2 separate regions of the Homo sapiens genome follow, and region 1 is linked to region 2. The links are contacts of gene promoters, found by promoter capture Hi-C in blood cells and fetal thymus (Javierre and others, 2016). All regions are on one chromosome and are shown on one strand. Each heading gives the region's core, a stretch centred on a gene start or on the middle of the fragment in contact. The rest is flanking DNA. Distances are from core to core; before and after follow the strand shown. Region 1 overlaps UGT3A1 (UDP glycosyltransferase family 3 member A1). Region 2 holds the start of AGXT2 (alanine--glyoxylate aminotransferase 2).

The links. Contacts are between HindIII fragments. The CHiCAGO score rates a contact against its expected background, and 5 or more counts as called.
Region 1: a fragment that was not itself captured here is called in contact with the fragment with the promoter of AGXT2 in region 2 in 3 of 17 cell types (total CD8 T cells, erythroblasts and activated CD4 T cells); the score reaches 9.1 in total CD8 T cells.

The regions. Positions count from the first base shown.
Region 1 is chr5:35,957,917-35,960,616 of GRCh38, reverse strand. The region is part of intron 4 of UGT3A1 (UDP glycosyltransferase family 3 member A1); the gene reads left to right. Among named protein-coding and RNA genes, the nearest start is that of CAPSL-DT, 20 kb to the right of the region's middle. The HindIII fragment of the contact is 539 bases long and covers 1,113-1,651 here.
Region 2 is chr5:35,046,523-35,049,222 of GRCh38, reverse strand. It overlaps AGXT2 (alanine--glyoxylate aminotransferase 2), which reads left to right and starts at 1,274. Exons shown (of 14, transcript NM_031900.4): 1 at 1,274-1,418. The coding sequence starts at 1,331. It also overlaps a transcript of PRLR not described here. The HindIII fragment of the contact is 8,089 bases long and covers 1-2,700 here.

The sequences.
Region 1 (2,700 bases), core at 133-2,632, 910 kb before region 2:
CGTGGGCTTTAGGAGTTGCAGGCACCCACCCTTATATACTGCTGTGGGGCCAGAGCCCCAAAGCACTCACCCAGGCTCATGCACCTGCCCGTCTGCATGCTCCCCCTTCTGTAAGGAGTTTGAGCAGCAGCGGAGGCTGCGGCCAAACTGACAAGCCACACCCTTGTCACATACCCTGTGAGGGGGGGTCAGGGAACTTTCCCATTTCACTGTCATCAAAATTTATTTGACCATAATGCAAAAGTCTATTTCCGGGCTCAGTCTTCTATTCCACTGGTCCATGTGTCTATCTTTATGGCAGTACTACACTACTTGGATTACTGTAACTTTGTAATATGTTTTGAAATCAGCAATTGTGAGAACTTCTTCTCTGCTCTTTTTCAATATTATTTTGAATATTCAGGGTTCTTGATATTTCTTACACATTTTAGAATGATTTTTCTGTTGCAAAAGAAGTTATTGGGATTTTGATAGGGTTTGTATAGAATATGTACATCCCTTTGGATTGTACATATTTGACATCTTAATAAGTGTCCCAATTCATGAAGCCAGAATGCCTTTCCATTTTTGTGTGTGTGTCTACTTTCTTTCAGCAAAATGTTCATGTTTTAAATGTAAAATCTTTCACCTCCTTGGTTAAGTTTATTTTATTCTCTCTGATATTATTGTTGAAATTGTTTTCCTAATTTCTTTTTTGATTTGTTCATTGTTAGTGTATGGAAATGCAGCTGACTTTGGAGACTTGACTTTTTTCCTTCGACTTTGCTGAATTTGTTTATTAGTTCTAATAGATTTTTAATCTTTAGTGTGTGTGTGTGTATGTTATTTTTAAAGTTTTACATATATAGAATCATGTTATCTGCCATTATTTCTTCAAATAGCCTTTCTTTCCCTTTCATTTTCTCTCGTAGTGCACATATTGATCCACATGATAATGTCCTATTGTCCCTTACATTTTGTTCATTCTTTTTTTCTTTTTCTTTCTCAGACTTGACAATTTCAAATAATTTGTCTTCAAGTTCACTGATTATTTCTTTTGCCCACGAGAAAAAAATTCAATTTAATGATTTCATATTTGAGCTCCAAAAATTTCCTGTTTTAAATTGAAAGCTTTCTCTTTGTTGATATTCTAAATGTGTTTACATATTGTTTTTCTTGTTTACTTTAGTTTTTTTCCCATGTTTTCCATGAGCTCCTTGGGCATATTTAAGAGAGTTTCTTTAAAAATATTTGTGTAGTAAGTCCAATGCCTGTGTTTCTTTAGGAAGGGTTTCTGGATATTTATTTTGTTTTTCAAAATTATGCATTTTGACTATTTCTTTGTATGCCTTGTGATCTTTTGTTGAAAATTGGACATTTGAACAATTAGTTACTTCTGTCAGTCTTTGCAGTCTGGCATGGAAGAGCATGTTTTGAGTGTTTTGATCAAGATTAAGGTCTTCTCAGGTATTTTTTGGTTATGTGTCTCATCTGGACTTTTGTGTGTGCTTTTCTTCCTCCAATTCCCTCTGTATGCTCAACTGTTTTTGAATGCCTTAATTTCCCAATGAACCTCGCCCAGACTCTTCTTGGACTTTAGATGTTCTATTATATTCTTCTGTCCATAACTTCTTGACCCAAGCCTTCATAGGTCTGCAGTATCCCTTAAGCTTTCATACGTCATGGTACCTACCACTGCTTTCTATGACTTCTGTCAGCTTGAAATCTGAGCTATGTCACCATTCCCAGTGTGAGCTCTGAATTAGGTGAGACAAACCAGTCACTAAGTAGCCAACAGACAGGTTAGAATGTTGTAAATAGTTTCTATTCTGCTCCTTCTGGCTGAGGGAAAGAATGCACAATTGAGCTTTTGCCTGTGGACTGTGGTCTGCCACTCCAGGGCAAAGGTAAATAAAATGGATTAGAAATTTATACTGTTTGAAAGTGGCTTTTTCTTGATTGGGCATTTGGTTGCTTGCTGTGTATCTTTGACTGGTTTTCAAAACTCTACGGAGTCATTTGAGTCAGTCTCCAGTTGATTTTCAAATGTTTCTCTGAAAGAACAAGGGCATGCGGCTGCTGATTAACATTATTGCTCTGCTTCTTTTGATTTTATATAATGATTTTATAATTACAAGAACAACAAAGCTGTTTTCAGTTTGTTAATTGAGATGGTAGTTCAGGCAGTGTTATGCTGGATGGAATCAAGTTATCCTACACAATGACCCAGTAGAATGAGGGGCTCAGGACTAGAGACAGTCACAAAAATGCTGAGAGAGGAAGAGTCTGAAGAAATGTTTGGAAGTAATAATTGATGAAACAGTGCTAGAGCTAAGTTTTAGGGCATTAGATCATAATCTTTCTTAAGAATTACCTGAGGACAAAAATAGGCTAGGTAGCTATGCAAATATCAGACAAAATAGACTATATGTCAAAAATATTTACAAGAGACAAAGAAAGGCATTACACAATATAAAATTTTATGTTTGCATTCACATAATTATAATATTATAAGTATCATTTAAAAATAATATATGAAATATCATCAACAATATATAAGAGCTATAAATATATATGCACCAAACAACAGAGCACCAAAATATGTGAAGCAATAATTGATGGAATTGAGGATGAAATAGACATTACTACAGCAATAGCTTGGGACTTCGATACCCCATTTTTAGTAATGGAAAGATTATCTACACAAATGATCAATAAAGA
Region 2 (2,700 bases), core at 25-2,524:
CAGACTGTGCACCCCAGGGAGATGCTGTGTGTCCACTGGCCTCACTGACTTGGATTACTCCTGCAGCACGTGACCAGCCAGCTCATATGATCACTCCCTACTGCCCCCAAAGCAGAATTGACTGGGAGCTGGAAACCCACACAAAAAGGGACAATTATATTGAATGTAACATACTCCCTCTGCTTACCTAGTGCCTTCACCTCCTATGGGCATTTGGAGTAAAAGGTTGTTATGCAGGTGTTTGTGAAGGATGTGGCCAAGTCAGTTGTCTCCCTTACAGGGTGACCCAAGATTAATGATATCTACCCATCCCCAGTCCCTCGACCCCCTAGTTGCAATCAGCTTTGTCACTGTCCCCCTTAGGCACTGCCATGTAAAGCACGTGGTCCCCCATTCTGAAGCAGTGGGAAACCTAGAAGAGATGTACTCTTCGCAACCTGGTTGGATCTTAAAAACATGGTTCTAACTGAAAAGAAAAAAGACATATTACACATATTTACATAAATTAAAACTGCATTCACCCTAAACAATACACATTTTACAAGAATGCGTTCCAACAAAAGGATATATATAAGCATGCTAAATACTTGCTTATGGGGATTGAAGGTAAGGGGAGGCTGGAGTGGGATAAATAGGAATTTAAGAAATAATGAAAATAAGGCACACTAACTCCTTAGCTCTCAACCTTTTGCCTTCCTCAGACACATAAGATGATCCACAGCTGTCCAGAACCTTACCTAGCTATTTGGTACTCTCAGCTTTTCTTTGGAATGGCTCCTTCCCCATTGTTTTCTCCTCTCTTTCTCTAAGACCCCCAAAACCAATTTATTTGTTCATTCACTTCATGCATATCTTCCTTTTTCCTCTCTTAGTCACATACCTCGTTTCACAATCTCCGACCCCTTCAACCATGTCCTGATCCTTCTCCCACACCCAGCACCACCCTCCTGCAGAGAAAAGTGTACCCGGATGAAACTCCGATGGAATATTAAACTAACAGAACTTGTCAGATGACCTTTGCTTTATCTGCCTGCTTTCTTTCCTCTTCCCTTCTGTTCTCTTCTTTTCCTTTCTTTTCTCTCCTCTTCTCTCTCTCCTTCCTATTTTCATTCTATCTCTTTTCCTCACTCTCTTTTTCTCCCCCTTGAAGGCACTGTTACTAGAAATAGAGAGCTCTGGGGCTTGCCTGAAGCCATGGGCAGTCACCACTCCAGGATTCCCCTTTTAGCGCCTCCTCCCCATCTTAATCTCAAAGTCCAGCAGGATAGTGAGCAGTTAGAGCCCGGCCTCCAATCTGCTTCCATGGGGGTTGGCTTTCTGAGTGGGAGAAATGACTCTAATCTGGAGACATTTGCTGAGACCCTTGTGCCTGGTCACTTCCGCTCCCAGGATCCTTGAGATGCATCCTTTCCTGAGCCGTAAGTGGAAACCAGGGGGACGTGGGTCAGTAGAGGATCAGCGAGAGGGTAAGACTTGAGCTCCGAAGGCTGCTGCCTGGGATTCTGGAATGTTAGACCTGGGTGAGGTCTTAGAGATGAGGCATGTTTTTGACACACAGGTTCTCACCCTGAGTCAATGCCCCATTTTCATAGCCAATATTTTGTAATGCTCCTTTTTGTTTTGAAATGAAATTCGTGGATAATGAAACCCGACTATACACAATTTCAACATGACATGCTATCTCAGCTTCAATATTTTTAAAAACCAAAGGAAAGCAATCAAAATAGAGTGTGACTTCAATTTACAGATGCCCAAGGATGATTTCTATTTTTTCTTTTTTGAGACAGGGTCTCCCTCTGTCACCTAGGTTGGAGTACAGTGGTGTGATCATGGTTCACTGCAGCCTTGACCTCCAAGGCTCAAATAATTCTCCCACCTCAGCCTCCTGAGTAGCTGGAACTATAGGCACATGCCACCATGCCTAGCTATTTTTCTTTTTTAACTTTTGTAGACATGGGGTTTTACTATGTTGCTCAAGTTGGTCTCGAACTCCCGGGCTCAAGCAATCCTCTCACTTCAGTCTTTCAAAGTGCTCGGATTGCAGGCCTAAGCCATTGCACCAGGCTAGGATGACTATTTTAAAAGATGTAAAGCATCTGCATGAATTTTCATCATGCCTCTAGGAAGTGAGACCACGCTCTCAATTGCCAACAAGTGCTGTGATTCACCCAGAGTCATCCAAGCCAGGGCTTGACCCCAGGCCCTCCCCATCTACTCAGACTCTCCTCTCTGCAGCAAGAACAGAAAATATGAGGAGATGTGGGGTAACCAGACATTGGTGGCTTTATGAGTAATATCCTATATGCTTGTGATTTTCACATGGATCTTGTTTCACGAGAGCCTCACCTCCTCCTCAGCAAATTCCCTCATGCAAACATGAGATTAAGCAACTGTCTGTACATTTATGTGCCTGTGCTTCACGGGCCGTAAACAGGTACAGGGGACCATTTTACATTCCCCATTGTGACCAACTTTGCCTTCATTTTCTCCTCATATTTCCCTTTCACCCTCCTTCCTTCCTCTCCTCTTCGCTTTCTTACCCCTGAAAATTGCAGTTTTTTGAAACTTGACACATGCATGATGCTTTAAATGCATTATCTCCTTTTATCTTCAACCAAACTTGTTAGTGAGTACTATTATCTCATTCCACAAATGAGGAGACAAGAGAATAAGGAATATCTAAGAAATGTGGTCAAAGGC